Regions from separate parts of the Homo sapiens genome. Here regions 1, 2, 3, 4, 5 and 7 are each linked to region 6. Evidence: promoter capture Hi-C in 16 types of primary human blood cells and fetal thymus (Javierre and others, 2016). All regions are on one chromosome and are shown on one strand. The core of a region is centred on a gene start or on the middle of the fragment in contact, and the rest is flanking DNA. Distances in the headings are between cores, read along the strand shown.

Evidence for each region. The method cuts DNA at HindIII sites, captures the fragments that hold promoters and counts their contacts. A CHiCAGO score of 5 or more calls a contact.
Region 1: a contact is called between a fragment that was not itself captured here and the fragment with the promoter of CD300E in region 6, in 1 of 17 cell types (monocytes). The highest score is 5.1, in monocytes.
Region 2: a contact is called between a fragment that was not itself captured here and the fragment with the promoter of CD300E in region 6, in 5 of 17 cell types (monocytes, M0 macrophages, total B cells and 2 more). The highest score is 7.4, in monocytes.
Region 3: a contact is called between a fragment that was not itself captured here and the fragment with the promoter of CD300E in region 6, in 1 of 17 cell types (monocytes). The highest score is 5.8, in monocytes.
Region 4: a fragment that was not itself captured here is called in contact with the fragment with the promoter of CD300E in region 6 in 1 of 17 cell types (naive B cells); the score reaches 5.5 in naive B cells.
Region 5: a contact is called between a fragment that was not itself captured here and the fragment with the promoter of CD300E in region 6, in 2 of 17 cell types (monocytes and naive B cells). The highest score is 8.1, in monocytes.
Region 7: a fragment that was not itself captured here is called in contact with the fragment with the promoter of CD300E in region 6 in 5 of 17 cell types (M1 macrophages, monocytes, megakaryocytes and 2 more); the score reaches 6.9 in M1 macrophages.

Annotation. Positions count from the first base shown.
Region 1 is chr17:74,472,342-74,475,193 of GRCh38, reverse strand. CD300A (CD300a molecule) reads right to left here. Exons shown (of 7, transcript NM_007261.4): 2 at 1,320-1,658; 3 at 509-662. Among named protein-coding and RNA genes, the nearest start is that of CD300A, 7.1 kb to the right of the region's middle. The HindIII fragment of the contact is 3,644 bases long and covers 1-2,852 here.
Region 2 is chr17:74,381,015-74,383,894 of GRCh38, reverse strand. LOC124904055 (a long non-coding RNA gene) reads right to left here. Exons shown (of 2, transcript XR_007065898.1): 2 at 2,353-2,880. Among named protein-coding and RNA genes, the nearest start is that of GPR142, 15 kb to the right of the region's middle. The HindIII fragment of the contact is 6,854 bases long and covers 1-2,880 here.
Region 3 is chr17:74,785,322-74,788,021 of GRCh38, reverse strand. SLC38A12 (solute carrier family 38 member 12) reads right to left here. Exons shown (of 10, transcript NM_017728.4): 3 at 2,419-2,540. Among named protein-coding and RNA genes, the nearest start is that of SLC38A12, 10 kb to the right of the region's middle. RefSeq lists an enhancer at 2,609-2,700. The HindIII fragment of the contact is 4,883 bases long and covers 1-2,700 here.
Region 4 is chr17:74,862,484-74,865,183 of GRCh38, reverse strand. It overlaps FDXR (ferredoxin reductase), which reads left to right. Exons shown (of 12, transcript NM_024417.5): 7 at 253-360; 8 at 620-704; 9 at 837-1,036; 10 at 1,117-1,288; 11 at 1,938-2,108; 12 at 2,237-2,687. The coding sequence ends at 2,367. Among named protein-coding and RNA genes, the nearest start is that of GRIN2C, 3.9 kb to the right of the region's middle. The HindIII fragment of the contact is 151 bases long and covers 1,245-1,395 here.
Region 5 is chr17:74,768,267-74,771,184 of GRCh38, reverse strand. It overlaps NHERF1 (NHERF family PDZ scaffold protein 1), which reads right to left. Exons shown (of 6, transcript NM_004252.5): 6 at 1,832-2,717. The coding sequence ends at 2,529. NAT9 (N-acetyltransferase 9) reads left to right here. Exons shown (of 7, transcript NM_015654.5): 7 at 1-656. Among named protein-coding and RNA genes, the nearest start is that of NAT9, 6.6 kb to the left of the region's middle. RefSeq lists a silencer at 181-280. The HindIII fragment of the contact is 7,456 bases long and covers 1-2,918 here.
Region 6 is chr17:74,622,293-74,625,117 of GRCh38, reverse strand. It overlaps CD300E (CD300e molecule), which reads left to right and starts at 1,380. Exons shown (of 4, transcript NM_181449.3): 1 at 1,380-1,536. The coding sequence starts at 1,497. The region is part of intron 3 of LOC101928343 (a long non-coding RNA gene); the gene reads right to left. The HindIII fragment of the contact is 4,294 bases long and covers 1-2,038 here.
Region 7 is chr17:74,436,247-74,439,155 of GRCh38, reverse strand. The region is part of intron 1 of GPRC5C (G protein-coupled receptor class C group 5 member C); the gene reads right to left. Among named protein-coding and RNA genes, the nearest start is that of GPRC5C, 5.6 kb to the right of the region's middle. The HindIII fragment of the contact is 430 bases long and covers 1,282-1,711 here.

The sequences.
Region 1 (2,852 bases), core at 305-2,804, 150 kb after region 6:
TTTTGCTTGGTTCTCATTCTCTGTCTTGCCTGCTGCCATGTAAGACATGCCTTTTGCCTTCTGCCTTGATTGTGAGGCCTCCTCAGCCATGTGGAACTGTGAGTACATTAAAACCTCTTTCTCATTATAATTTATCCAGTCTCGGGTATGTCTTTATCAACGGTGCGAAAACAGACTAATACACGGAATGACAACAGTACAGGGCTGCAGTGAAAGGCAAGTGAGAATACTCATGTGAAGCATCTAACACGGGCCTCGTAGGATGTTACCAGCTGTCAGTAACTATCACTTTCCTTCCATCTGCCCCCCAACTTCCCCCCTACCTGAGCCCCCTTCCAAAGCCAAGGGCAGGTCCAAGCCGGGGTGTTCAGACTATGGCTTCCAACCTGGGCCTGGGGCAAAGGGAGCGATGCACACCTCCAGCTGGCCCACATGGCCAAGGTCCCCGCCCTGGGCTCCTCCTCTTAGCACAGGGCCCCCTCCATGTCTCAGGGGCTAGGGTGCTTACTGTGAGTTCACCACCTCCTCAGTTTCCTCCTGGATGCTGGCACTGTGGGTGGCACCCACTGCAAACAGGGTAGTGGATGATACAGGTGGAAATGCAGTTGTGATTGTTGAGGTCTTGGCCGCAGTGATACTTGCAGGTGTCATTGACGTTGATGCTGGTGGCAAAACCACAAGTCAGACCCAGGGAGCTGTCCTCTGGCTCTCCCACCACTCAGGATGCCTTTTTGGTTTGATTTCACACAAACTGCCCACTAAGGAAGGGGGCAGGATGCAGGACCCTGGGGCTAGAGTCTCTCCAGGACCCTCCTGGGCCAACTGGGCATTTCTGAACAGGACACGGGTGCCACTCCCAGTGGTCCTGATTTTCCATCCTGCTGATGAGGGTCCAGGTGCTCCTGCGAAACTCCATGCTGCAGAGGAGTCTGTCTACACTGCAAATCTGACCTGTCATGTGGTAAGGCTCCCCCTGAGGACAGCAGCTTCCCATCTGGCCCCCCAGCCTCTCTGTTCAGCCCCACCCCTCCCCCACTCAGCTGCACTTCCGTTGGGGCTGAGCCACAGGTGCGCTCCTGGCTCCTTCACAGGCAACGCTCTCTCAGCCTCCCTGTCACTGGACCCTTCCCTTCTTCAATACTGGGCAGACATGTCAGCTGCTCCAGGAGAGACCCCCTGACTGTGTTCCCCTGGCCCCCACCTCTCTCTCTCTTACGCACACACACACACACACTGTCTGCTTCACGTCTCTGATCTGATTCCTGCCCCAACAATTCCAACCTGAGCCTATTTAGGCGCTGAGGGAAGGAGGGGCTCACCCGGGAACACGGACACCTCAACCTCGACAACGGGATCATGAAAGTCTCGGAGCCATGGTGTATCCACCCCACACCAGTAGGTGCCTGCATCCTCCTCTGTGAGATTCTCCAGGGTCACTGTGAAGCTGAGGTTTGCAGGACTGTCCCTGATGGACACTCGGCCGTTCCTTTTTCCTGCTGACCCTTTGGTCTCCACAATCTTGTCACATAGGAAAATCTGTGGTGGTCTGCACCAGTATTTGTTGAGGGTCCTGTGTTCCTTCTCATAGGGACACTGCACACTCAGGGATCCCCCCACGGGGCCCGCCACGGTCCTGCATTTGCTCAGAGCAAAACATCCTGGAAAACACAAGCCAGAGTCCCAGCTCCTCCTCAGATGAGCCTGGTCAGGGGTGCCCTGGGGTCAGGGCCGCATGGACCCTGGGGGTGTGGAGGAGGCAGCGGCAGGCAGAGAGGCCTTGTCCACCCAGGAGCGGGGACTGAGGATGAGAGGCTACCTCCGCACACAGGTGGGAATGGGGCAGAGGCTTTCCATGGAGACCGGAAGAGCTCAGGCTGGGTGCCCTGGAGTCACCTCCTCCAAAGATTCCCCGACTCCACATCAGCACCCCCAGCCCTCAGCCCCTGACTCCTTCACCTCATATCAGCCCCATCAGCCAGATCACAGCTTGAGTATTCTCTTTTCTGCTCTACCACCCTCAAGATTTTGCTCATAGTAGCCCCTTTCTCCAGCCCCCTGCCTCCTTTCCCTTACCCTTCCCACCCCTCTCACCCACCAGGGGCCTCCTGCTTCCAAACCTGCCAGGAGCATGAGAACTCACCCCTAAGCACCTGCACTCCCGGGAGGGCCACCCCAGCCCTGGGCAACCCTGCAAGAGGAAGACCGGCCCACACACTGATCTGGTCCCACCAAGGGGCAAACCCGGGCAGTAATAGGGTTGTCAAGCCATTTTGACAAGAATACTGGCTGGGTACAGTGGGTTATGCCTGTAATCCCAGCACTTTGGGAGGCTAAGGTGGGTGGATCACTTGAGGCCAGGAGTTCGAGACTAGCCTGGCCGACATGGTGAAACCCTGTCTCTACTAAAAATACAAAAATTAGCTGGGCGTGGTGGCATGCGCCTGTAATTGCAGCTACTGGGGAGGCTGAGGCACAAGAATCGCTTCAACCCTGGAGGCGGAGGTTATGTTGAGCTGAGATGGCACCACTGCACTCCAGCCTGAGTGACAGGGTGAGACTCTGTCTCAAAAAAAAAAAAAAAGAGTCACAAACGCAGAAGGCTTGCTGACGAAAACTTTCATCCTGTGTCTTACCTTAGTTTGCCCAGCTCTCCTAGACTTAAATCTCGGAAATAAATGAACTTCCTTGAAAATTATGTCTGACATTTTCCCAAATAATTATCAGATGCAAAGCAAGGAGAGTAAGGTGATGGCTCGAAGCTAGTGTTGGCTGCCAAGCAGAGGACACATGGCCCCTGCCCCAGGCAGATGGGCACAGGCCTGCTGGGCAGTTGTGTGTGCAGTGTCTCAATG
Region 2 (2,880 bases), core at 202-2,701, 240 kb after region 6:
GGTGGGAGGATCACCAGAGGTCAGGAGTTTGAGATCAGCCTGGCCAACATGGCGAAACCCTGTCTCTACTAAAAATACAAAAATTAGCTGGGCGTGGTGGTGGGCGCCTGTAGTCCCAGCTACATGGAGGCTGAGGCAGGAGAATTGCTTGAACCCAGGAAGCAGAGGTTGCAGTGAGCCGAGATTGTGCCACTGCACTCCAGTCTGGGAGACAGAGCAAGATTCTGTCTTAAAAAAAAAAAAAAAAGAAAGAAAGAAGTGGGGCAAGGGGGCCCAAGCAAGAAGAGCCTCAGAGGGTGGGGCCAGGCTACCAGGCCGGCCAGGGCAGTGCCTCTCTGTCCATCTCAATCACCCTTCCCTTCCGACCACCTCTGGGTACATGTCCAGAGCCCAGAGGGATACCTCTGAAACTCTGGACCCAGGGCTAAGCCCCCATGGACACAGGATGCTCACGGGGAGGGGTAGCTGAAGCCCCCATTCTCAAATCTCCTAGGGGATTATGTCATGACAGAGTGGAGCGCTGCTGCTTCTCTCTCTAAGCCTCTTGCACAATCCTCCTTCTTGCTAGAAGTGTTCCAGGGACCACAGAGGGTGTGAGCATTCCCTCCCTCTGCCCCCAGGTCTCCTCCAAACCCAGTGTACCCTGCAGAGGCTTCTGGTAGCCCTCCAGCTGCTCCCTGGCCTCCCTGTCTCTCGCCTGGGCTATCCCTCTGGCCTCCTAAGGGGTCTCCGGCCTCCTGATGTTTCAGTTCATCCTCCCTAATACCACCAGCAGGATCTTTCTAGAACATACCCTTAAGAACCATCAGGAGCTCAGTGTGCTGTATGAAGACCTTCAGTGTCAGTACCAGCCCATCATTCCAACGTTATCTTCCATCACCCCCTTTCTACCCACTAGGTCCCGGCCACACCAAACTACTCATCGTTTTTATCTAACTCCCAGCATTAGAGTTAAGGGGTATGTGCTCCTGTGTGCTGAGACACACAAAAGACTGACTGACTTCACCTTGAACCTGCCTTCTAGATCCAGGCTCTGCTAACTCTAGCATCTCCCTATGCCTTGCACACAATGGCGAGATGTACAGAAGGCAGAGAGCAACCGGCCGATTAAAATCCTGTTTTCCCCACTAACTAGTGTTCTTTGGTCAAATTGCTTAAACTCTCTGGCCCTCAGTATGTCCATGTATAAAATGGAAATAACAAGAATTCCTGCCTCGTAGGGTTATTGTGAGAATGGAATGAGACAGTGCATATAAGAAACTAGGCCTGGCGGGGTGTGCTGGCTCACGCCTGTAATCCCAGCACTTTGGGAGGCCAAGGCGGGTGGATCACCTGAGGTCAGGAGTTCAAGACCAGCCTGGCCAACGTGGTGAAACCCCGTCTCTACTAAAAATACAAAAATTAGCCAGTCGTGGTGGTGGGCACCTGTAATTCCAGCTACTTGGGAGGCTGAGGCAGGAGAATCGCTTAAACCCAGGAGGCGGAGGTTGCAGTGAGCCGAGATCGTGCCATTGCACTCCAACTTGGGTGACAAGAGCAAAACTCCATCTCCAAAAAAAAAAAAAAAAAAAAGAAAGAAAGAAAGTGAGCCTGGGAGGTGGGTGTGGTGGCCTATGCCTGTAATCCCAGCACTTTTTGGGGCAGAAGCCGAAGGATTGCTTGGGGCCAGGAGTTCAAGACTAGCCTGGGCAATATAGCGAGACCCCATCTCTAAATAAAGAAAAACAGACAAAAAAACACAGAGCCCAGTGCCTGGCACATGGAGATGCTCACAGGCTGTCTGTATTCTGTTAGGTGCCTCCCATCAGTGAGCTCTGTTTCTCCTGCTTCTACTCTGAACTAAGGCTTAGGTGCTTCACGGGGAATTGTAAGTTTGGTAGCATTTATTTTATTTTATTTATTTATTTTTTAAAGACGGAGTCTCCCTCTGTCACCCAGGCTGGAGTGCAGTGGCGAGATCGGGGCTCACTGCAACCTCTGCCTCACGGGTTCAAGCGATTCTCCCACCTCAGCGCCTGCCCTTACAGGCACCCGCCACCACGCCCAGATAATTTTTGTATTTTTAGTAGAGATGGCGCTTCACCATGTTGACCGGGCTGGTCTTGAACTCCTGACCTTGAGTGATCCGCTTGCCTAGGCCTCCCAAAGTGCTGGGATTACAGGCGTGAACCACCGTGCCTGGACGAAGCTGGGTAAGAGAAGTGACCATAGATTTAATGTAGCTCAACCTCCACATTTTACAGGCAAGATAACTGAGACTCTGAGATTAGAAACGACTCTCTTAAGATCACGTGGTGAGTGGGTGTGGCAGAAGGGCCTGGCTTTTGTATTCATTTTGCCTCAAATCACAGAGCAGTTTATGTGCCTTTATTGACTTTTATTTTCCTCCAGAAATAATATCAAGTCAAATAGTGTCCTTATAATTTGCAGGTATTAGGAGAGGGCCCTTTGGGAAAGGGTTGCATTAGCTGCCTCCCTTGAGGGTTCATGACACAGAAAGTTCTAGAAAAGTGACTGCCCCTGGTTAGGGGAATCAAAACAGCATCAGCTGGCATGGCTGGGTGGTGAGCGAACCCTGGATTGCTTCCACAGTGGGCCGCGCTAACTGTGGCAAATCAAGTCTTTCTCTGCCAGCTGGAGGAGCTGCTACTCTGATGCGCAGGTACCCAAGGCCTCAGCAGGTGTGGCTGGAATGCCACTGGGTCGGGAAAATGAGGTCTAGGACAAGCATGAGGCTCTCTTGGGTCTAACTGAGCTGATCCATTCACCTGGGAAGAAGAAGAAGGGAGGCGCCATGGAGACAAGCCAATAGGACCAAGCCCTTTGTCCTGGTCCCTGGGGACAATCCTGAGGCTGGGAAGCCAAGATCTGCAGAGTTAT
Region 3 (2,700 bases), core at 201-2,700, 160 kb before region 6:
GAGTTCAAGACCAGCCTGGCCAAAATGGTGAAACTTCGTCTGTACTAAAAATACAAAAAAATTAGCTGGGCATGGTGGCACATGCCTGTAATCCCAGCTACTTGGGAGGCTGAGGCAGGAGAATTGCTTGAATCCGGGAGGCAGAAGTTGCAGTGAGCCGAGATCGTGCCACTGCACTCCAGCCTGGGTGACAGAGCGAGATTCTGTCTCAAAAAAAAAAAAAAGGATACTTGAGAGACCTAGATGACAGCTGGAATGCATGAATGCTTTTGTTAACGGAGGATACAGAAGTGGGCTGCCTTCCTGCTAATAAAACCTGAGGTATGAATCCATCTCTGCCGTGGAACAGCATGGGACGAACATTCATCTCCTGCTTTCTTTTTTTTTTTTTTTGAGACGGAGTCTCGCTCTGTCGCCCAGGCCGGACTGCGGACTGCAGTGGCGCAATCTCGGCTCACTGCAAGCTCCGCTTCCCGGGTTCACGCCATTCTCCTGCCTCAGCCTCCCGAGTAGCTGGGACTACAGGCACCCGCCACCGCGCCCGGCTAATTTTTTGTATTTTTAGTAGAGACGGGGTTTCACCTTGTTAGCCAGGATGGTCTCGATCTCCTGACCTCATGATCCACCTGCCTCGGCCTCCCAAAGTGCTGGGATTACAGGTGTGAGCCACCGCGCCCGGCCCATCTCCTGCTTTCTTGAGGCCAGGACAACTCTGCCAGCAGACTCACCCCTGCCTCTCCCTGAGTGTTGACAAGGGTTGGGGGGCTGACTGCTCACCCTGACGTCAGGTGGCAGGAGGCAGAGGGGTCACTTGGCCCCACACCAGTTAAACCCACACTCACTCCCACTCTGGGGGAGCAGCCAGCTCTGAAACCCCCATTCCAATCGCCTCAGCACCTCCTAGAAAGGTTTCTCATTATCTTGCCTAAGTGACCATTTTAAGGGCTTTGGATTTACCCTTCTTTTTGGACGTGAAATTAAAATCAATCTTAATTAAGGCATAAAGAGACTTTTCATGGTTGCGCAAGGCCAACTCATCGATCACGTTCAAACACAAATGGGTTGAGCAAGGAGCGGGGTGTGGTACCCCCTGCCTGGGAGCCCAGAATGATCACTTCCCATTAGATGGCTGCCTGTGCTGAAGGTCCTTTAAAGGGGACAGCGGAGTCATGTAAGGACAAGGACTTCTAGAGCTCTTGGCTGCCAGGGCTCACTGTAGATAATGAACCAATAGTGCCCCAAGATTCACCCTCAAAACTCCCCAAAAGAAATGCATGAAGAAACTGAAAACCATGGGCGTTTTCCTATCCCATTCAGCTTCCTGTACGTCTTAGTTTGCTCCAACTACTAAGCTCCGTCTCATCCTTCCGCCCGCACCCACTCCCTCCCCCTTCAGATCCTTGCTTAGATGCAGCCCTCCCTGACCCTGCTTCAGCCGGCATCCTAGTCCCCTCGCCCTGTTACGCCTTCCTCTTTCCACAGCACTCACTGCCTTCCGGCTCACTCTTCCATTTACCCATTTATTATCTTCACTGCTCGCTGTCACTTCTCCCCACAACATAAAGTCAAGTCTGCACAGGCAGGGATCTTTGTGGTGAGGCCCCCTCAGTACCCAGAAGGGTGCTTGGTGCACAGATGGGGCAGGGTCACCTCTCAGGGGAGGTGTTTCCAGGTGCTCCTTCCCATCTCTTTTTTGCAGCTTGTGGATTCCTACCCGGTTGAGAGAATGGAAATGCCTAGTCCTAAACCCCTTCCTGGCCTGGGGCACTTGCTGACAACTTCAGACTAGTCCCTACGTGTGTGGGAATCCCCGAGAAGAGCCTCAGGTGGAACCCACCCTCCCTGAAGCACCGGCTGGTGAGGCCCACACACCTGGCTCAAGGAGTAGGCGTCCCTGAAGACCTGGGGAGGTACACAGCAGGCGAGTGCCACACTTGATCGTGCACCCAGGCGTGTGTTTATCACCTACTTCGTGAATTACCTTAAGTAAATTCTAAATTCCAAACTGATTTCCCATGTCACCTTAAATGTTTGTTAGATCTTTTTTCTGTGGCTGGGTGGTATTTTCTCAGACAGCAAAACTTGATGGTAATGTTAATAAAGCATACATTTAATAGCAGGGAGGTAAACCTGCCAGGGAAGAAATAGGCCAGCATCACGTGAAACATTCCAAAGCCTAGTGGATGTCCAGGTTTTTATCTGATCAGGGCTGTGCAACCGCTCCACAAAGACAAGCCACCAGGAGGCCTCTGTGACCACTTTCCCCTCTCTGAATACCCTGGCAAGGACTCACTGAGCTCGATACGGGGTAGACAGGTGTCTTCCCACCCCCTCAGTGCCCTCATGTTCGGGCTTCCTGGGCTGACTCCCTCCTGCTCCACTCCTGGCCCCTGTGGGGAAGTCCCCGCTGCCTCTCACCTCATGAAGCCCAGGAACACCAGCAGGACGAGGCTGACAAGCCACCCGGCAGTGGCGAATGCCTTGGGCATGGTGAGTGCGCCCGTGCCCACGATGAGGTTAAACATGTACACCAGCCCAACCTGGAACCGACAGAGGCAACATTCAAGCCCGGAACTTAATCAACTTCTCCCCTTAACAGCTCCCAAGGAACGACCCTGGTGATGGCACCACTGTGGAGGCCAGAAGGCCACACTGTAGACAGGGAAGGAGGCAGGACAGGAGAATTACACCTGGGGCCTA
Region 4 (2,700 bases), core at 71-2,570, 240 kb before region 6:
TCTTTGCATGGGGGTGAGCACATGGTAGAGGCCCACTACATACTTGTTGAATGAAAGTGTGGGCCTGGTGTGCTATTAGTTGGAGCCATTTGCAGAGTTGGCAGCAATGCTCCATCTGGCCACCAGGGGGGAGCAGTGGCGCAATTTTGAGCCGCCAGCCTTCTCCAGGCCCACGGTGGGGACATGACCAAATGGAGAGTCCCCTTTCCTCGGTCAGTGTCTGATGACTCCAAGGCCCTCCTTTTGTGCCAGAGAACGGACATCACGAAGGCAGCCCTGGGTGTACTGAGGCAGAGTCGAGTGAAGACAGTGTGGCTAGTGGGCCGGCGTGGACCCCTGCAAGTGGCCTTCACCATTAAGGTGCTGGGGCCAGAGTGGGAGGAGCCAGGGTTCCAGGTGGAGGGGGCCTCTCCTTAAGGGGTTGGGGTGGGGCAGAGCCCCTGGGAGTAGCTGCTGCCTGGGATGGAAGAAGGGGAGCAGTCAGGGCCCCGGGGGCCCTGTGCCTTTGGGGAGGAGGCGGGTGGTGGTCTCTCCTGCCTGGGCTGGACCCTGGGGTGGGCTCAGGTGGACTGTGTTCTGGGCCTGACCTCCTCCCCCATTCCCTGCTCCCACCTTCAAGGAGCTTCGGGAGATGATTCAGTTACCGGGAGCCCGGCCCATTTTGGATCCTGTGGATTTCTTGGGTCTCCAGGACAAGATCAAGGGTGAGGGGCCCTGGCCTGGCCCCCCAACTACTAGGGAGAGGGTGGCCTAGGTCAGAGAGGGATTGGGGAAGGGCATGCAGGGAGAGGGCCGGGGCCCAGGGACAGCCTGGAGACATTCTACGTTGCTGACAGAGGTCCCCCGCCCGAGGAAGCGGCTGACGGAACTGCTGCTTCGAACGGCCACAGAGAAGCCAGGGCCGGCGGAAGCTGCCCGCCAGGCATCGGCCTCCCGTGCCTGGGGCCTCCGCTTTTTCCGAAGCCCCCAGCAGGTGCTGCCCTCACCAGATGGGCGGCGGGCAGCAGGTGTCCGCCTAGCAGTCACTAGACTGGAGGTGAGTCTCATGTTTCCCAAAGACACCCCCTTCCCAGGCCTCTGCCACCCGCCTGGTGTTGCCCACACTCTCCCCAACAGGGTGTCGATGAGGCCACCCGTGCAGTGCCCACGGGAGACATGGAAGACCTCCCTTGTGGGCTGGTGCTCAGCAGCATTGGGTATAAGAGCCGCCCTGTCGACCCAAGCGTGCCCTTTGACTCCAAGCTTGGGGTCATCCCCAATGTGGAGGGCCGGGTTATGGATGTGCCAGGTGAGAGGGTGTGAGGAGGCTGGGTGCTGAATTATGGTGAGAGGCCGAGAAGCTGGTATCTCCTGGGGCCATGCGTTCATTCATCTAGCAACATGTACTGAGAAGCTTCTGCAGGGCAGGCCCTCTCTAGGACCCAGTGCCGCCCTCCTCTTGGCCCTGAGAGAAGTTCCAGTCTGGCTAGGACATATGTGACATACGTCGGGTCATTAAGTCATTCAACAAACGTTTACTGAGGTCTTTTCTGGGTTAGGCCCTGTGCTTAGTGCTGGGATTGGAGATTAATAAGGCAGCCTGTGTCCTCAGGGAGCTTCCAGTTTTACTAAGTGCCCACATACCTATCTAGTGATTAATTCACTTGGTAAACATTTACCAAGGGCCTACTGAAACTGCAGGGGAGCAAGCCTCAGCTCCTAAGCTTAGGGATCCCCTCATCTACAGGGAAACTGAGGTGTAAGGGGGTCGGCCTGGTAAAAACAGGGAGAGAAGAATCCAGGGCAGTGGACCAGCGGCCACAGCAGGCTCAGCCGACAGTCTGCCAAGAGGCGTGGGGTGTCTGTGTGCGTGCACGTGGGTGTAGATTGTGGGCACAGGATGGCCAGGGTGGTATCCAGCCACCTCCCTCCCTTCCCCTTTTGTTACCCCCTCTCAGGCCTCTACTGCAGCGGCTGGGTGAAGAGAGGACCTACAGGTGTCATAGCCACAACCATGACTGACAGCTTCCTCACCGGCCAGATGCTGCTGCAGGACCTGAAGGCTGGGTTGCTCCCCTCTGGCCCCAGGCCTGGCTACGCAGCCATCCAGGCCCTGCTCAGCAGCCGAGGTCTGGGCCCCGATGCTGAGGTCCTGGGAGGTGGGGTGGGTGGTCCTTCTCTGGGCCTCACTCTTTGGGAGGGGGCTGTTCTGGGAGGGGTGAAGGAGGAGGTGTTGACAATCTCCCCTCTGCTTCAGGGGTCCGGCCAGTCTCTTTCTCAGACTGGGAGAAGCTGGATGCCGAGGAGGTGGCCCGGGGCCAGGGCACGGGGAAGCCCAGGGAGAAGCTGGTGGATCCTCAGGAGATGCTGCGCCTCCTGGGCCACTGAGCCCAGCCCCAGCCCCGGCCCCCAGCAGGGAAGGGATGAGTGTTGGGAGGGGAAGGGCTGGGTCCGTCTGAGTGGGACTTTGCACCTCTGCTGATCCCGGCCGGCCCTGGCTTGGAGGCTTGGCTGCTCTTCCAGCGTCTCTCCTCCCTCCTGGGGAAGGTCGCCCTTGCGCGCAAGGTTTTAGCTTTCAGCAACTGAGGTAACCTTAGGGACAGGTGGAGGTGTGGGCCGATCTAACCCCTTACCCATCTCTCTACTGCTGGACTGTGGAGGGTCACCAGGTTGGGAACATGCTGGAAATAAAACAGCTGCAACCAAGAGCCATGGTTGATG
Region 5 (2,918 bases), core at 191-2,690, 150 kb before region 6:
ACAGGTGGTCCAGAGTGAGTGTGGCCTGGCCCCTCAACCTAGTGTCCGTCCTCCTCTCTCCTGGAGCCAGTCTTGAGTTTAAAGGCATTAGTGTTAGATACAGCTCCTTGTGGCTGGAAAACACCCCTCTGCTGATAAAGCTCAGGGGGCACTGAGGAAGCAGAGGCCCCTTGGGGGTGCCCTCCTGAAGAGAGCGTCAGGCCATCAGCTCTGTCCCTCTGGTGCTCCCACGTCTGTTCCTCACCCTCCATCTCTGGGAGCAGCTGCACCTGACTGGCCACGCGGGGGCAGTGGAGGCACAGGCTCAGGGTGGCCGGGCTACCTGGCACCCTATGGCTTACAAAGTAGAGTTGGCCCAGTTTCCTTCCACCTGAGGGGAGCACTCTGACTCCTAACAGTCTTCCTTGCCCTGCCATCATCTGGGGTGGCTGGCTGTCAAGAAAGGCCGGGCATGCTTTCTAAACACAGCCACAGGAGGCTTGTAGGGCATCTTCCAGGTGGGGAAACAGTCTTAGATAAGTAAGGTGACTTGCCTAAGGCCTCCCAGCACCCTTGATCTTGGAGTCTCACAGCAGACTGCATGTGAACAACTGGAACCGAAAACATGCCTCAGTATAAAACAAACATTATAAAACGAACGCGTTGCTTGCCGTGGCTCCCTTCGTACCATGTGTACCTCAGCAATGAGAGTTCCCTTGGGGCCACCCATTCCTTCCACCAGTCTTCAGGTTAATGAAGAGTCAAAGGTCCCCCAGGGCTTCCCCACCCAGCAGGTGAGATAGGGAGGGGCCCTCCACGACCCCTGTGGAGGGGAATCTGTCAGGGGCCAAAGGGTAGAAGCAAGGGTGGGGTGGGGGCAGGTCAGCTGAGCAGGGCACTGCTGTGGTAAGGGTTTTGGATGGTTCCTCTGACAAGGAGCAGGAGATGGCCAGATAGTGACTGGCCTGGGGGACACTGTCCACTCCCTGATTCCAGATCTACCTGCTTTACTCATTCCCCTCAGCCCAGGAGCCTATTTTCTGAGAGGTGTCCCTTTGGGTTGGGTGGAGACTAGCCTGGGGGCACCTTCCTCCTGAGCACCTGCCCGGAACCTCCCGGCTCTGCAGCCTAGCTCTTGCAAGCCACCTTCCTGGACCTCCAGATCAGGCTTCAGGTGCCAAAGGTATCAGGGACCTGGGTCTTTTGTTGGGGGCAGGGCACCTTGCCCTTGAACAGTCCCTTCCACCCCAGCTAGCCACACAGCATGTCCCCGGGCTCAGTGGACCGGTTTGTTTTCCCCTGGCACTGGACACTTGCCCTCCAATCAGGTCACAATGGCCAGATAAGATAGAGGATCTGGCACCAGCCCAGCCTGCCCCTGGGAATTCTGCACCCCACTGGCTATAGGCAGAAAGAGTAAAGCCAAGTCCTCACATTCCAAACCCAGCTCCATCCTGGGACACACTTTCCACGCTTCTGGAATTAAAGGAACCTCCCAGAGTCCTCTGAGAACGTTGGTCTGAGCTCCCACTTCCCCTTGTAAATATCCCCGTTAGACAAGGGGTCCCCAGCCCACAATCGGTGCTTGCAGCCCAGCACACAGGCACACTGACCACACCAAGCTGAATACCCGGCTGGGTGCATGCATCTTCCTTCCTACAGGACTGCAGCTAGGCCCTCTAGCTAAAGCTACCCAGGCTTGGGGTCACAGGGAGCCCTTGATGGCCCTCCCTCCAGTGTACCCCACCCTCCCAGCCAAAGACCACCTTGGCTTACCATTTCTCAATTTCTACCTATAAGGGGTCCAAGGCCAGAGGACAAAACTTCCAAGGAACACACGGAGGCTGAAGGGTTTGGAGGAACCAGCTGAATTTCTGAAAGTGTTTCCTTACAATGGTGGTACCTGGCTCAGGGATGGGCAGGGGTAGCCAAACCCTCCCCGTGCTGCCCAGTTCGCTGAGGGTGGGAGTAGGAACAAAAGTTTAAGGCTGAGGCCACTGCCATGCCCTGGATGTAACAACCAGGAAAATCATGTTAATCAAGGAAACAAAAATTCCTCTAGACTCTGCAATACTGCACTCTTAACAAAAATCAAATGAAAACAAGACGTGTCTGCCACAGGTCTCAGGGTAACAGATGCCCTGTCCACTGAGAGCGGCAGTTCTGCAGTCAGAGTTCTTTGATCAGCCCTGGACCCATTTATCACATGGGGGAGGAAGGGAGGGTGCCCTCTCGCCTGGTCCCATGATCCTGGCATGGTGCAGGTTCCAGCGATGTCCCAGGCAGGGTGGCAAAGGGACACCCGGTAGGATGAGGCACTCAGTGAGGAGGAGGGAGGCAGAGTCTCCTTTCTGACTGCGGGAGGACGGGAACACATTCACCTTCCCTAAAGTCAGGGAAGAACATAGTTCTCTAGAAAAATCATTTGTCAAGAAAGGGGATGTGGGTGCTGATTTGTACATTGATTCAGGGGAGTAATTGGGGAGAAGGAAAAAGGTGGGGTGGAATGCTGGCTCGGCCCTGCCAGTCACTGGGTGGCAGCAGGGCGCTCAGAGGTTGCTGAAGAGTTCGTTTTTCTTGCTCCAGTCCATCTGCGGGGCCCGTTTGCTGCTGCGTTTCTGGTGGGCCCTCTCTTTGGCCATGGCCAGGGAGATGTTGAAGTCTAGGATGGGGTCGGAGGAGGAGGTAGACGAGGGCGCTGTGGAGTCCTGTTTTGGGGGGCTGTCTTGGGAATTCAGCTGTAAAGAGAAGTGGGGGCAGGAAGTTGGGAGTCAGTCCCTCATTAGGCTCCCTGGTCCTCAGCCTTGGTGAGGTGGCTCCGTTGGGGCCGTGCCCAGGGAAGCCAGGTCACAAGAACAGAATGCGGCTCAGCATGTGACCTCAAAGGCAGGCTGGTGTGCCAGGAACAAGTGGGGCCTGGGAATCGGCTTCCTGTAACC
Region 6 (2,825 bases), core at 131-2,630:
GTCAGCTCTGCTCATTCTGGATCCCTCAAGTGTGTGGCTCATGTCACACATGGGACCAGGGTCCTGGTGTTTTATTGTTCCATCCAGGGCTCTATTCTATATATAATCTATCTATCTTTCTTTCTTTCTTTTTCTTTCTTTCTTTCATCTTTCTTTCTTTTTTTTTTAGATGGAGTCTCTCTCTGTTGCCAGGCTGGAGTGCAATGGTGTGATCTTGGCTCATTGCTTTGCAACCTCCACCTCCTGGGTTCAAGTGATTCTCCTGCCTTGGCCTCCCAAGTAGCTGGGATTACAGGCACGTGCCACCATGCCTGGCTATATAATACTTCATCAGATATGGTGGTACAGAAAAGATAAGAAGTTGTGCTCTTACAACAAAAGTTTGAAATATCAGATGATCCAGTAGAGTTCTAAAAGATAGTAAAGATTAGAGGCTGTGGGTATCAAAGATGGGTATCTCTGGGGAAAGAGAAGGAAAGAAATTATATTTTCAGATAGCTATGTCTTAGAGAAGAGTATCTTCTGATGTGCAAGTTGGATTAGAGAGAATGTATAGCTAGTGGAGGGACCAGATGAGAAGCTATTTCAATGGTCCAGGACTATTCTAAAGGTATTTAATATTAACTGGGCAGTTACTATGTTCCAGGCACTGTATCAAGCACTTTACTTACATTAACTCATTTATTTCCTGTGGCAACCCTTTGAGAAAGAATTGTCATGAGTACTCTATTTTACAGATGAGGAGACTGAGGAGGAGAGTGATTTGGCAACATGCCCAAGGTCAGATGATTAATAAATGATGGAGATGAGATTTGAGTTTGTGTGACTTCAGAATCTATGCTGTTGACCATGACCCATATACTGAACTAGGTTAACAGTGTATAACCAGGTGGAGCTTCCCTATAGGAAGTTAGAAAGTAGGATCTGGAGCCCAGGAGAGATATTGGGATATTGGGTTAGAGGAAGAGGTGTGAAGTCATCCGCATGGAGATAACGGTTGAGAAAGACATGGGGAGTGATCACCACAGCTCCTTAAGTAGAGGGTGTTTTATGATTCAAAAGTAGGCAGCCATAGAGAAGGGAAGCTCCTTAGATCGATGAAGTAATCCCAGATAGGAAGAAGAGTGAAAGAGGCAGGGAACAGAGTTTTCTCTGTTGGAGAGGTTTCGTAAACTGGGACTGACTTTCATGAAATTCCGAGTCATGAAATCTCAGGGGGTGACTCAAACATTACGTTCACATTAAATGAAGGCCAACAGATTTTCCTGTTTGTGCTTGGTCCATTCTCAGAAACGTCTCTTGCCACCCTTTCTCTTCTGCTAAGTAAGGCTTAAAATTAGGAAGCATTCTTTAAAAGGCAAAAGAGGAAATAGATGAGTGAGAACACAAAGGAAACTTGGACAAGTAGAAAGTGGATGACCCAGGCTCCGTTACATATACTTGGATTCCAGCTGGGACCTAGATTTGCTGAGGACGGAAGCCAAGGAGACAGGAACATGTGGCTGCTCCCAGCTCTACTCCTTCTCTGCCTCTCAGGTGAGTGGGGCTGTGGCTTTGGGGACTTGGTTTTGCAGGGGGCAGGACAGTAGGTAGAAGAGCTGTCCTGGGTTCAAACCAGAGGTGAAGTGTCCACAGAAAAGGGAAAGATACATCCGTTCATTCACCTGTGCATCCTTCTATACATTCAATCATTCATCCACGGATCCTACAAACACTTACTGAGCACCAGATATGTGCCAGGACTGTTCTGGGTGCTGTAATTAAGAGTAACTTCTGAACTGAGGGAGTCAACTAACTACAATACAATGTGGAAATTACTGTTGTAGAGACTCATTCATGTGGTGATGAGAGTATGCAACAGGAACCCCTCACTTTGCTCTTGGAAGGGTGGGAGATGTCACTGAGGCTTCATTGGAAGTCCATCCTGCAGGATGAATGAGTTGGCTGAGTGGGAAAGGAATAGCTTATGTGCAAGTGTGAGGACATTAAAGACCATGGAGAGTTCAAGAATTAACAATAGTTCTGTTTTGACGAAGCTTAGTGTAAAGGGGTTGGAATGGTTTGTGAGAAATAATTAATGGGCTGGGCGTGGTGGCTCACGCCTGTAATCCCATCACTTTGGGAGGCCAAGGTGGGTGGATCACCTGAGGTCAGGAGTTTGAGACCAGCCTGGCCAACATGGTGAAACCCTGTCTCTACTAAAAATACAAAAATTAGCTGGGCGTGGTGATGCATGCCTGTAGTCCCAGCTACTAGGGAGGCTGAGGCAGGAGGATCGCTTGAACTTGGGAGGCGGAGGTTGCAGTGAGCCGAGATTGCACCACTGCAGCAGTCTGGCCTGGGTGATAGAGTTGAGATCCTGTCTGAAAAAAAAAAATGCCATCCTCAACATCTACCTTAAATCCTTCCCGGAACAAGGTGTGGTGTAAACAAGTAAATGAAACTGTCCTGCAAAGGTTGGACTTCAGAAGAGAAACTCTTATTAATAGACATTCAAAATACAAAACTGCAGGAAAACACATTTGTCTCTGGGGAAATAAATTTAGGCTAAAAATTAGAGGACATTCTTCATGTTTGCAGAATGAATTTTATGGTTGAGTTCCCTCACAAAACATAGAAATTGCCCAATGTAATGACAAGATTCTTTCTAGAAGGGTGAGTGAAAATGACAGCGATTTAAAGGAAGAAGACCAGGTAGGTGACATGGACCCAAACTCGTGGGCTCAAGCAATCCTCCTCTCTTGACCTCCCAAAGCACTGGGATTACAGGCATGAGCCACTGCACTCAACCAATGTTTGCTCATTTTGTATTTGAATTTGCTTCC
Region 7 (2,909 bases), core at 247-2,746, 190 kb after region 6:
ATCCTCCATTTTTTGCCTAGCTCGGAAGCGGAAGTCAAGGGTGAAATAAACGAAGTCCCCAGCTAAGGAGTTAATGACTTAATGCAAAAATTTTCCTTCGGAGCATTAACATTTTAAAAGTAAGAACCAGGCAAGGGCAATGCAAAACCCAAAGGAATTAATCTTTAATAGAAGACTTTAAGACGTTGTAGCTAGAAGGCAAGAAAATTAGCTTTTATTAACACCAGCAAGGTAATTTTCACTCCATCTACTGACTGCCGCTCTACCAAATGCCACAGATCTGTGCCAGAGAAGAAAACCAAACTCCTGCTCCCAATACCAATTGGATTTTCCCACGTGAAGTGGAGGTAATGGATTTAACAGGTTAAGAAATATTAAAGACCAAATCAATGAGTTTTTTTCCAATCAAAAGTTTTAAATGTACTTGGAGGAAACCTAACACTGAAAATTTAAATGCTGCTGGGCACGGTGGTTCATGCCTATAATCCCAGCACTTTGGGAGGTCAAGGTGAACAGATTGCTAGAGTCCAGGAGTTTGAGACCAGCCTGGGCAACATGGTGAAACCCCGTCTCTATAAAAAACACAAAAATTAGCAGCTGGGTGCAGTGGCTCACGCCTGTAATCCCAGCACTTTGGGAGGCCAAGACTGGTGGATCACTTGAGGTCAGGAGTTCGAGACCAGCCCGGCCAAAATGGTGAAACCCCGTCTCTACTAAAAATACAAAAATTAGCCGGGCGTGGAGGTGCACGCCTATAATACCAGCTATTCAGGAGGCTGAGGCAGGAGAATTGCTTGAGCCCGGGAGGTGGAAGTTGCAGTGAGCCAAGACTGCGCCACTGCACTCCAACCTGATCAATAGAGTGAGACTCTGTATGAAAACAAACAACAACAACAACAACAAATATATATATATATATATATATATATATATATATATATATATATATGAATTAGCAGAGAGTGTGGTGGCATGCACCTGTAGTCTGAGCTACTTGGGAGGCTGAGGTTAGAGGATCATCTGAGCCCAGGGGATCGAGGCTGCAGTGAGCTGCGATTGCACCACTGCACTGCAGCCTGGGCAACAGAGCGAGACTGTTTCCAAAAAAAAGAAAGAAAAGAAAAGAAAAGAAAAAGAAAATTTAAATGCTTAAAGAAACAGGTTATACGTTTCAAAATTCTATGAATGCAGGTAGTCCACATTTAAGTCACCCCACGTGTTCAAATAACTAGTTGTAACCCAGCTTCATCAGGAACTCTCTGGGAAAACAGCAACCAAGCTTTCCTGGTCTGACAGTGACCACTAGTGGCTGGCAGGGGAATGGCATTATCTAACTCTCTTCTGTGAGGCTGCCACCCTTTTTCCTTTTTTAGGGGGATTGTGAGGTTGTTTATACATGGTTTACCTCCTTACTGTTTTCTACCATTCCTGGCTACTTAATTTCTAATAGGCAAACAAAAGCCCTAAATCCCACAGTTGATAGAAATTGTCCCTCTTTTCAACACAGAAGCAAAAAAAAAAAAAAATTCTGTCCATAATTGTTATGTGAAAGAACACTTACTAAATCAGGGGCAATGCAACTCATAAAATTAAGTGAAATGGACACAATAAAGAGGATCCATTTTCAAAGTCCCTTCAAATAGTCTCCATGCCACTTGAAAATATTTAGGTCGTCTTAGCCATCTCAGCTACCTCATCTTTCAATTAAGCTTGCTTAAGATTAACTCTTAAAATTAACTATCTCATGTAAATGTACTGTTGTTTTCCTAAATAACTGGCGTTCTAATGGCTAGTTTCTCTTTACTTCTAATGCAGGACTTAAATAAGCTTCTGTAGGGGACTTTGTAAATCAATAAAGCACCAACTGCATTTTATTTACAAGTGCTGGAAAGAGGAGTAAGAGAGGGCTAAGAGGTAAGGAGTAGGCTGGGTGCGGTGGCTCATGCTGTAATCCCAGCACTTTTGGCGGGCAGATCACGAGGTCAGGAGTTCCAGACCAGCCTGACCAACATGCTGAAACCACGTCTCTACTAAAAATACAAAAATTAGCCAGGTGTGGTGGCGTGCGCCTGTAATCCCAGCTACTCAGGAGGCTGAGGCAGAAGAATCCCTTGAACCTGGGAGGCAGAAGATTGCAGTGAGCCGAGATTGCGCCACTGCACTCCAGCCTGGGTGACGGAGCGAGACTCCATCTCAAAAACCAAAAACAACAACGACAACAACAACAACAACAAAAAAGGGAAGGCGTAATATGGACCCACTCCTGGGAGATAATTTATGGATAACAACAAGCTGTGGGATCCTAAATGTTCAACTTCATCTTGGGCTCCACAGCCAAACCAGCCAGAACTTGGGCTTGAAGCTGGACGTAGGGAAGAGAACCCTCAGAACTGCCACTTAGACTCCGGACACCTGCACTTTCAAGGGCTTTTCACCCCACCTCCCTCGGCCAGGGCCCAGTTTAGAACAGGCAATTACTCCAAATCAGCAAATATTGACTGTGCGCCTGGGAAGGAAAGGCCCTGTTGTTCCCAGAGCTGTGGAAAATACAAACATGAACAAACGTAGTCCCTGACTTGATGGCATTTAAAATCTATCAAGAGAGATAAGGTAGGTACTCACAAAAATTACACAAGGAAGAATATGATTAAGGGCCACACAACGGAATTTACCTGCAGGAGAGAGACAGGGGCTACAGGAACACAGAAGAGAAACAGGCAGAGTAGAGAAAGACTGTTCCGCAGAGTTTTACTCAGAATCTAATAAAAAAACATACCAGGTCCCAGACACTGCCAAGAGACAGGGACACCCAAAAGCTAAGCCCTGAAGAATGTGAGGAAGGACTGAGCAGGTGAAGGGAACAAGGAGAGGGACGTGCAAGGCAGAAAAGATGGTGTGAATCAAAGCCC